Linked DNA regions of Homo sapiens: all the other regions are linked to region 1. Evidence: promoter capture Hi-C in human tissues and cell types (Jung and others, 2019). All regions are on one chromosome and are shown on one strand. Each heading gives the region's core, a stretch centred on a gene start or on the middle of the fragment in contact. The rest is flanking DNA. Distances are from core to core; before and after follow the strand shown. Region 1 holds the start of GJD4 (gap junction protein delta 4). Region 2 has its middle 10 kb from the start of CREM. Region 3 has its middle 35 kb from the start of LINC02634.

The links. The method cuts DNA at HindIII sites, captures the fragments that hold promoters and counts their contacts. A contact is called where the count stands out against the background at its distance.
Region 2: a fragment that was not itself captured here is called in contact with the fragment with the promoter of GJD4 in region 1 in 1 of the 25 tissues and cell types used here (mesendoderm cells).
Region 3: a contact is called between a fragment that was not itself captured here and the fragment with the promoter of GJD4 in region 1, in 1 of the 25 tissues and cell types used here (aorta).

What each region holds. Positions count from the first base shown.
Region 1 is chr10:35,603,651-35,607,351 of GRCh38, reverse strand. GJD4 (gap junction protein delta 4) reads right to left here and starts at 2,011. Exons shown (of 2, transcript NM_153368.3): 1 at 1,721-2,011. The coding sequence starts at 1,784. It overlaps GJD4-AS1 (GJD4 antisense RNA 1), which reads left to right. Exons shown (of 2, transcript NR_199600.1): 2 at 1,387-2,790. The HindIII fragment of the contact is 12,098 bases long and covers 1,158-3,701 here.
Region 2 is chr10:35,114,910-35,118,610 of GRCh38, reverse strand. It overlaps a transcript of CUL2 not described here. Among named protein-coding and RNA genes, the nearest start is that of CREM, 10 kb to the left of the region's middle. The HindIII fragment of the contact is 9,031 bases long and covers 1-3,701 here.
Region 3 is chr10:35,278,032-35,281,732 of GRCh38, reverse strand. It overlaps a transcript of CCNY not described here. Among named protein-coding and RNA genes, the nearest start is that of LINC02634, 35 kb to the right of the region's middle. The HindIII fragment of the contact is 4,093 bases long and covers 1-3,701 here.

The DNA of each region.
Region 1 (3,701 bases), core at 762-3,261:
GGCCTCTTGAGTAGCTGGGATTACAGGCATGAGCCACCACACCTGTCAGCTTGTCTTTACTCACAGCATCAGGTAGTTCATTTGACAAATATTTACTGAGCACTGAACATCCTTGTTTGTAAGATGCTTCAAGATGAGTAGATTTTTAAAAAGCATTATATTAAAAGTGTTTTAATCTGTCTGCTAATTCAGACTTTTGGTAATGTCTCCTGGACTGATAGGTCCAGAAAGAAAGTTTGGCTGAGCAAATTAATGATTTAAATAAGATTTAAATTTTCTTCTTAGGAGAATAAGCCTTTTAAAAGAGGTTGGTGTATTTCTGTAACTGCCAATTCGAGCTGCTGATTTCAGTAAATCTTACTTATGACAACAGTCCAGGGATCTCTATTTAATCACAGGGCTTGTATTTAATGTTAGTCTACGGCCCTTGAAATTGAATTTCTTTATGAACATTCCATTTTTCAGATTTTTTAATCATTCAGAATTCCTCTTCCCCTTTTCCAGTTATTAGGAATGAATGGGGCTTGTCTTTCTTCAATGTATCGTGAAGGAATGACACCAAGCTAGAAAACCAAAATAACTGTCAAGCCCTATTTTCATGGCACCGGCCAACTGTTTCGAAACATGTTTAAAACTCAGCCAAAATAACTTGTGAATATTGTGTTTTGTGATGAGAGAAACATCGCCTGACATCATAAAAACAAAACAAAAATAAATATGTAAAGACAGTCAAACAAAGAATAATATCATTATGTGATGAGTCATTGAGTTGAACTTTTAACATCAAGTTGGTTTTGTCTAAATCTACAAAATAATGAGCCAGAAAAGTATCAACTGCATCTCCGGCATATATTCATCCTTTTCTGACCCCCATACCTCTCTGAAAATGTGAGTCGTCTGCATTAAACAAAAATCTATTATTTTCTTTGTTAAAAAAAATAACTAAACTTGGGATTTGGTTTAAAGTGCACAAGAGAAATGGCTACTCCTTAAAAATTAAGCTTCCAGGCCAGGCGTGGTAACTCACGCCTGTAATCCCAGCACTTTGGGAAGCCAAGGCGGGTGGCTCACGAGGTCAGGAGATCGAGACCATCCTGGCTAACACGGTGAAACCCCGTCTCTACTAAAAACACAGAAAATTAGCTGGGCGTGGTGGCAGGCGCCTGTAGTCCCAGCTACTCGGGAGGCTGAGGCAGGAGAATCACTTGAACCCGGGAGGCAGAGGTTGCAGTGAGCTGAGATTGCATCACTGCACTCCAGCCTGGGCAACAGAGTGAGACTCTGTCTCCAAAAACAAAAAAAAAAAACCAAGCTTCCAGAATAAAACCTAAAGGTATCACCTTCTGATTAACATTTGTTGTTCTGTTCCTTTTCCTGGTAACGTAGCCACACCAGGGTTGCACACAAACACCCCTCCACCTGCTTTGGTCTTTGGAGTCAGCACCCCAGTGTCAGCACAGGATGATCTGTGAGAGAACAATGTCAAACGCAAGACTCCCTTACATGACGGAGGAACCGCGGAACCATTCAAAGAAACTAGAAGCCTCAGCTCTCTTCCCTCCAGAAAGGCACAGCCCTTTCTTTTGGGAGTGGGTGGACTTTCAGCTTGGTGCTTGCACACTGAAAATGAGTAAATACCTGGACCCTTTAAGGACTCAATTCCACCATGGCAGTGGAAATAAAAACAGCGCAGGAGTTTGGAGATGGTCCCAATACTCACCCACCATGGTCACGTTGCAGTTTAATGTGATGATGAGAAACCCTAGCAAGTCCACGCCTTCCATGCTTCCAGAATGTCCCAGGCTCCAGGCTGCAGGAGACACTGGAGGGCTGTGTTCTCCAAGGAGGCGGATAAATGTCCTTTAACTACATAAGACTTAAAGGTGTGAGCTGGAGATAAGAAAGCAAAGGTCTGAGCCAGGAGTAGGAGGTGGGTTTTTCTGTCTCCAAGTTGAGACGGCCCTAAGCCGTTTGCCTCTGAGGCGAAACATTCCTGACAACTGCAGTGACCAGCAGAGCAAGCAGCAGTCATCTCTTATTGTGGGCTATTCTTACTCGCCTGGGATATTCCCGGCCTGTGGCAGCGCTCATATGTCCCCACCAGGACAGCCAGATGCTTCAGGATATAATAGCAGCAACTACTTTTAACCCAAGAAAGAAAACTTCTGCTAACTAGCCAAGTAAATTTCTCTATTAAAAAGGCATTTCCTCCTTGAAAACATTTCCACAACCACTTCACTTGTGCAAGAAGCCCTTAAAGTGTTCACGTTTTGTCTTCTCAATCAAGCATGAATCGCCATGCCACCATCACACGAACCCACAAGGATCTCGCCCTTATTCTGAATTCCTGTGTCATTGGTGCAGGCAGAAATCTGAAACTCAGTTGGGTGTCCCAACTTTAGACCGTGACTTGGTTATTCTCCTGCTGCTTCCTGTGCAGTGAGTGACAACTCTTCGCTTGGAGACAAAAGCCTGGGTGCAAAGCCCGGGGCAGCCCCCTACTCACTGGGGAAGTCATTGGATCCTTCCAGATAGCCTCATCTTGCAATAAGGAGAATCATGCCATTCCACTTGCCATTTGTGGGAGGCTTATGTGAAATGATGGTGTAGAATAAGAGCAACTGGTGTGAAGTGGGTGTACGACAACCCATATCCGTGGGATTTCAATCCCTAATTGGCCTCTACGACCTTCACAGATTACATCTTCCCTTTGTATCTCCCAGCCCCATCTAGCCTGGAGCTGTTCCCATTGAATCTACTTAATAAATGTCTGTTAAATCTGTCATGAAATATCACGGTCTGGACCTGCTGACATCAATCACAGTTGCGTCAAAATCCTATCGCTGCAGCCACCTTCATATCTGGGAAGAACCCATCCTGCAGGGTTGGGGATCTATGATCAGGGTGGAAATTGTAAACTTTAAAAGGAATGATTTCAATTTTCCATGAAAGCTATTCTTTATATCCCCATCTTTTCTTCATTTCTGATCTATTCTTGACTTTAGTAATATCCCTAGAAAGATTCCCAGAAGAGTGCAACAAAGCTACTTTCATCTTTGCTCACATGACATGCTCCCATCCACGGAAAACGTTTTGACCCCCTTGAAAGGAACAGTGGTTTTGCTATATTTTAGTCAAATGCTTCGACATGAGCAAGGAAATTTGAGAAATTGTAGTTAAGTAAAAATATTGAAATAGTCACAGGGTGTAAGTATAAAATAAAGGAGAATTTGTCTCCTAATAGACTGCTCATGGTATTGGCTTTAAAAAAAAAATGAAATATCAGGAAAGCAATTACTGACTCTTGCTGTGTGATAGAAATAGCCCATCCCAAATGTGGAATAAATTAGCCCTGCGCGACCATGAGCAAATCACTGCAGCTTTTCATGCTTCGGTTTTCTCATCAGTGAAGCAGAAAAAAAGAATGTGTTCTTCACCCACTCACAGTGACTGTGATATGCAAATGTGACCAGAGATGTGAAAATGATTTTGAAATGTAAAGAATGACCCAGTGTCAGTGACAGGCGCTTCTCAGGGTTGGCTCCTCTGGTCCCACCCTTCAGGGCATCTTCTGAGCAGCCCATGCCCACCCATCTCCCTTCTCATCCTGGTCACCTTTGCTCTTCCTCCTTGAAGTCTACCCCATCCCCATTCCTTGTCTTTTTTCTCTTTCTCTTTTTTTCCTCTCTCCTGCTAGGTGA
Region 2 (3,701 bases), core at 674-3,173, 490 kb after region 1:
AGAAAGTCAAGTGAATGGATCAGACAATAAGAATTGAAAATAAGCTTAATAGAGCTTCAGAGAAAGAAGGGAGAATGTTGGAAACACAAAGCACAAACAAGCATTTGTGAATTGGATGTTGACAAATATTAATGAAATAACTCAATGGATGGGTTGAATATAGCTGGACAGTTCACTCATGAACCGGAAGATTAGAGCAAGGAAGGAACTAAGAAATGGAAAGCATGAAAGGAGAGTTAAGAAATGTGGAAGGTAGAAGCATAAATATTTTTCTAATGGAAATTCCAGAAGGGGAAAAAAAGAACATGTGAAAGAATTATTGCTGAGAATTTCCCAGAATTGAAGACATACTTTAGAATGAAAAAGGCCAACTCTAACTTTGGGATTTCTAGCTTCAGAGAAATGAAAATTTAGAATGACCAAGGGGAGTGCACAGGATTTTTTGGGCAGTGAAACTATTCTGCATGATACTATAATGGTGGATGCATGCTATTACACATTTGTCAAAACCCATTGAATGTACATCACTGAGAATGAAGCCTAATGTATGCACTTTGGATGATTATGATGTGTCAATGTAGGTTCATCAGTTCTAACAAGTAGAACATGCTGGTGCAGGATGTTGATAGGGAGGCTGTGCATATATGGGGGAGGGGATGAAAGGAACTGTGTACTTTCTGCTCGTTTTTGCTGTGCACCTAAAATTGTTCTGAAAAAAATCAAGTCTATTAAGAAAACAAAGACAGTTTTTTAAAGCATAAGAGCATACTTGTTATAAAAATACATGTAATGCAGTGTAATTTTAGAATTCAAGGTCACATATTTCTGTAACACTTTTATTCTTTCATGCCTACAACTTTCATGGAATGGTCCAGTCAAATAGGTTCCACATAATAGGAACCTTCAGTAATACACCACTCACATGTAGCAGAAGGACTTTAAAACAGTATATTCCCAACTCTTCTATTCATTGTGCCAATGTTGCCATATATTTCACTTTTACAAATGCTGTAAACATACAATACTTGTGCTATTTTTGCTTTCGATAGTTGCCTTTTACAGCAGTTAAAAAAAAAAAAAAAGCCAGTTGCAGTGACTCACGCCTGTAATTCCAACACTTTGTGAGGCTGAGGCAGGAGAATTGCTTGAGCTCAGGAGTTCAAGACCAGACTGGGAAACATAGTGAGACCTTGTCTCTACAAAAAATAAAATGCCAGGCATGGTGGCACTCATCTATAGTCCCAATACTCGAGAGCTGAGGTGGGAGGATTGAGCCTGTGAGATAGACTAGGCTGCAGTGAGCCAAGATCATACCACTGCACTCCAGCCTGAGCAACAGAGTTGAGTGCTCTGCCAGTCCACACCAGCCTTCGTGAATTCCGCAATTCTTCTAGCTAAACATATACCAGTATCTGGTTGTGTCTGTCCCAAGTAAGCTAGTGCCCTTCTCTTCCTGCAGGCATCTGTTGCTTCTTAGATTTTGGACCAGTTTTTTGTCCTGGGAACTCAACTCTTCGATAAATTCAAAAATACTCTGTAATTTGAAGGAAGTTTACCTTTTTTTTCATTGTAAGGGTGGAAGAAATGTCTCTTCTGGATGTTTATATCCAAAACAAGCTGGAAATCAGCCCTGGCTAACTTTTTTTTTTTTTTTGAGACGGAATCTCACCCTGTCGCCCAGGCTGGAGTGCAGTGGCACAGTCTCGACTCACTGCAACCTCTACCTCCCAGGTTTAAGCGATTCTCCCACCTCAGCCTCCCGGGTAGCTGGGACTACAGGCGTGCGCCACCACGCCCAGCTATTCTTTTGTATTTTTAGTAGAGATGGGTTTTCACCAGGATGGTCTCAATCTCTTGACCTTGTGATCTGCCTGCATTGGCCTCCCAAAATGCTGGGATTACAGGCTTGAGCCACCATGCCCAGCCAGAGCATCTAATATTTACTGAGTACTGAACATTTACTAAATACTTGACATAATGTTTTTTAAATCCCCCAAAAGTCATATTCTTACATCATAAATAAGGAAAATTTCAGATTGAAAGGATTCAAAGAGGGTTAAACGAGATCACAAAAAAAAGCCACAGCTGGGTACATTACTGTGAAATTAAACATCATCAGAGAGAAACAATAGATATAGATCTTTTCAGCTTATCTATTTCTTACTAAAAAAGAGTAAGTTTTGTAGTTTATGCCTTTCAGAGAATTTCTCTATTTTGTCTCCATTGTCAAATTTATTGTCATAAAATTGTTCATAATTTTTTTTTTGAGATGGAGTCTGGCTCCGTCGCCCAGGCTGGAGTGCAGTGGCATGATCTCAGCTTGCTACACAACCTCCACCTCCCAGGTTCAAGGAATTCTTGTGCCTCAGCCTCCGGAGTAGCTGGGATTACAGGCGCCTGCCACCACACCTGGCTAATTTTTGTATTTTTAGTAGAGACAGAGTTTCACCATGTTGGCCAGCCTAGTCTCAAACTCCTGACCTCAGGTTATCTGCCCACCTCGGCCTCCCAAAGTGCTGGGATTACAGGTGTGAACCGCTGTGCCCGGCCCATAATATTTTTTTTTATCCTTTAATGTCTATCAGATCTGTAGTGATATCATCTTTCAAGCCAAATCTTGGTAATTTTTATCTTTTCTCTTTCCCTGTTTCAGTTTTTATCAATTTTATTGCTCTCTTCAAAGAATCAACATTTATTTATTATTTTATTATATTTTTTGAGACCAGGTCTCACTTTGTCATGCAGGCTGGAGTGCAGTGGCGCAATCTCGGCTCACTTCAGCCTCAGCCTCCCAGGTTCAACCCATCCTTCTGCCTCAGTCCCCCTAGTAGCTAGAACTACAAGTGTGTGCCACACCCAGCTAATTTTTGTATTTTTTTGTAGTGATGGGGGTGTCACTATGTTGCCCAGGCAGGTCTCAAACTCGTGGGCTCAAGTGATCCTCATGCCTTGGCCTCCCAAAGTGCTGAGTTTACAGGTGTGAGCCACCACACCCAGCCAGAACCAACATTTAGATTAATTAATTTATCTCCCTTGTTAATATTTTCTTTTGAGATGGAGTATTGCTCTGTCACCCAGGCTAGAGTGTAGTGGCGCGATCTCAGCTCACTGCAACCTCTGCCTCCCAGGTTCAAGCGATTTTCCTGCCTCAGCCTCCCGAGTAGCTGGGATTACAGGCGCCTGCCAGCATGCCTGGCTAAATTTTTGTGTTTTAGTAGAGACGGGGTTTCATTATGTTTGCCAGGCTGGTCTTGAATTCCTAACCTCGCTATCCGCCCGCCTCCGCCTCCCAAAGTGCTGGGATTACAGGTGTGAGCCACTGCACCTGGCCTTGTTTTCTCTTTGTGCTCCATTTTATTTTTATTTTATTTTTTAGACAGAATCTTGCTGTGTTGCCCAGGCTGGCATGCAGTAGCATGACCTCGGCTCACTGCAACCTCTGCTTCCTGGGTTCAAGAGAATCTCCTGCCTCCTGGGTTCAAGTGATTCTCCTGCCTCAGCCTCCCGAGTAGTTGGGATTAAAGGCGCACATCATCACATCCAGCTAATTTTTGTATTTTTAGTAGAGATGGGGTTTTGCCATATCGGCCAGGCTGGTCTCGAACTTCTGACCTCAGGTGATCTGCCCACCTCGGCCTCCCAAAGTGCTGGGATTACAGGCTTGAGCCACTGCACCCAGCTTCTTTGTGCTCCATTTTAGA
Region 3 (3,701 bases), core at 445-2,944, 330 kb after region 1:
TATGGTTTTATCACATTGGATATATCACATTTCATTCATTTATCCATTCAGCAGTTAATGGACATTTGGATTGTTCTCATTATTTAGCTATTATGAATAATAATATGCTACTATGAAAATTCCTGTACAAGGCCAGACGCAGTGGCTCACGCCTGTAATCCCAAGCACTTTGGAAGACCGAGGCAGGTGGATCATGAGGTCAGGAGTTCAAGACCAGCCTGGCCAAGATGCTGAAACTCCGTCTCTACTAAAAATACAAAAAAAAATTAGCTGGGCACGGTGGCAGGTGCCTGTAATCTCAGGTACTTGGGAGGCTGAGGCAAGAGAATCACTTGAACCCAGGGGGAAGGAGGTTGCAGTGAGCTGAGATCGCACCACTGCACTCCACCCTGGGCGACAGAGTCAGACTCTGTCTCAACAAAATAAATAAATAAATAAATAATAAATAAATAATAAAAATTCCTGTACAAGCTTTTATGTAGACATTCCATTTCTTTTGGGTGCATACCTAGGAGTGAAATTGGTGGGTCAAATGGTAACTATGGAAACTTTTAAAGGAGTGCCTGTTTTCCACAATGGCATTTTCCATTCCCACCAGTGTATGTGAGTGGTTCCAATTTCTCCACATTCTCCCTCTTTTTACCTGATGTCTTCATTATAGCCATGCCAGTGGGTGTGAAGTGGCGTTTGATTGTGGCTTTGATTTGCATTTCCCTGATGACTAATGAGGTAGAGCAACTTTTCGTGTGCTTTTTGGCCACATGTATGTATTCTTCGGAGAAATACCTCCAGATCCTTTGCCCATTTTTTATTTAGATTGTATGTCTTTTTAGTATTGAGTTGTAAGAGCTCTTTATGTAGTCTATATACAAGTTGCTTATTAGATATGTGATTTGTGAAAATTTTATTGCATTCCATGGGTTGTCTTTCACTTTCTCAATAGTGTATTTTGAAGTGTAAATGTTTTCTATTTTGCTGATGTCCAATTTCTCTATTTTTTCTTTGACTTCTCTTGCTTTCAGTGTCATATCTCAGAAGCTGTCACTAAATCCAGAGTCATTATTTCTATGTTTACTTTTAAGAGGTTTGTATTTTGGGCTCCTACATTTAATATTTCAATCTGTTTTGAGTTAATTTTTGTGTATGGTGTGAGGTAAGGGTCCAACTTCATTCTTTTGCATGTGGCTATTCAGTTGTCCCAGTATCATTTGTTGAAAAGACTCTTCCTTCCTTCCTTCCTTCCTTCCTTCCTTCTTTCCTTCCTTCCTCCCTTCTTTCCTTCCTTCCTTCTTTCCTTCCTCCCCTTTCCTCCTTCCTTTCTTCCTTCCTTCCTTTCCTTCTTCCTTTCTTCCCTTCTTCCTTTCTTCCTTTCTTTCTTTCCTTCTTCCTTTCTTCCTTTCTTTCTTTCCTTCTTTCCTCACTCTTTCACCCAGGCTGGAATGCAGTGGTGCAATCTCAGCTCACTGCAACCTCCAACTCCCAGGTTCAAGCGATTCTCCTGCCTCAGCCTCCTGAGTAGCTGGGACTAAAGGCATGCACCACCATGCTTGGCTAATTTTTGTATTTTTTGTAGAGACAAGGTTTCATCATGTAGCCCAAGCTGGTATTCTTTCTTTACCAAATGGTCTTGGTACCCTTGTCAAAATCAACTGGACATAGATACAAAGATGAAACGTGGAGATCTTTGGTGATCTGAACAATAGCAGTTTTTATGAAATGATGGAGACAAAAATTTAATGGAAATGGATTCATGGCAGAATGGGATTGTGGAATTGGAAATAGTGAGTAGAAACAAGTTTATTGAGGAGTTTGCTAGCAAAAGCAGCTGGGGGATGGAGCCATAACAGGGGGTTAGGAGTTCAGCTCTTAGCTAAAGACCTCTATGTGATCTTTCAAACTTGATCATAGGCAATTACACAGGCTTTTCCTGGCAGGCCTCACAGGGAAGGCTGCCCTTTCCATGCCAGACTTGATGCACAGTCAGTGCATGACAGTCCTGAAGGGTGCTGTGGTCAAGGACTCAGGTCCCATGGGCAGGCCTTGCTCTCACATATCTGCATTCCTAGTCCAGGTGCCTCCATTTGAAATCTCTTTGGGGTCTCTGAATGAGGCCTTCCTCAGATGCCTCTTCTTATCATGAAGAGAAGAAGGAATCTTGCTTTTCTCTACTTGGACTTGGTTATTTTCCACCCTTAACCCTTCCCCTGATATCTGACCCTCTGCACACTGTTCCATGAGGGAAAACAGAGCAGATGGGAGTGGACATTCCCTCCAAGCGAGCCCTTTGCTTAAGGTATGGCGTTAGATGATTGAAGGCATGACCAGGAGCAGTGGCTTATGCCTGTAATCCCAGCACTTTGGGAGGCTGAGGCAGGTGGATTGCTTGAGGCCAGGAGTTCAAGACCAGACTGGCCAACATGGTGAAACCCCATCTCTACTAAAAACAAAAACTAGCTGGGCGTGGTGGTGCATGCCTGTGATTCCAGCTACTCAGGAGGCTGAGGCAGAAGAATCACTTGAACTGGGGAGACGGAGGTTGCAATGAGCCAAAATTGTGCCACTGCACTCCAGCCTGGGTGATAGAGTGAGACCCTGTCTCAAAAAAAAAAAAAAAAAAAAAAACATTGAAAGCTTGACTGGTGCTTTCATTTTGGCTTGTTGTTTTAATCACGACTCTAACACTACTTGGAGAGCTCTGGAGAGCCGCACTGAGCCCCCAACAGAGGGTGTCTTGTTTGGTTGTTTGTTTTTCTATGGGCGGCATTACCAGCAACATCATGTACTGATGAGAATGGGCCAATAGAGAAGAACTAATGAAATAGAAAAGAGAGAGAGGGCAGCTGGAGGCAGAAGGCATGGTGGATAGTGTGCCTTTGCCAGGATCCCCTCTCGGGGCCAGTGCACCCAGCCCCTGGCTCCTGGCAGGGAAGGTTCACAGCTGCGTCACTTACTGGGAAGGCCCTCAACCACAGAGAACTGCCTTGCCCAAGGGTATTCCCCTCCCAGTAGGTGACCCATGGCCAATACCAGGGTCACAAAAGAATGATCTCCAGCCCAGCTCCAGAGCACCCTATAGAATTGCCTAAAGCTTTAGTTGAACTTGCATTTTGGATCAGTTTCTCCTTCTGCTCAGTCCTGTCTTCCTCAGCTGCCTACACATGCCTCTCGACAGCCTTTCTGTATGCAACACTCTACCTCTGTTTCCAGGGAATATCTAAGAAAATTGAGGTGGTCCTGGGAAGCAGACTCTAAGATGGGACTTTGGAGCTGGATCCCTGCTGGCAAGCTGGCAGTAGGGACCCCATCACTAGTGTTGGGCGGAGTATGGACAGATCTGGGGTGCTGCAGCAGTTCAGGGACTGACTTTCACCTGGAGTGGCCTTGGTTCCTCTGGCGTATTCTCCAGCTCCTTCGGCGTGTGCTCTCTCCTCTCCCTTGTCAGGCCCACGGCATCCTCAGTTGGACTTTGCTGGGACATGACCTATTACTGGTCTGTAATCAGCATTGTATCTTTTGAGCTCTTGACAGTCCCTAATGATAGGATGAGGATGGGGGGAAGGTCAGCAGAGGCTGGAAGACTTGCTGGAGAGCTGGCCTCACACTCTCTTCCCCTCTTCTCCCGACGTCATCCATCTCTCAGGTGACACTCCTGCCAAAGACTTTGAATTCATCCCCTCTTTCCCCTCACCTGACCACCCAAG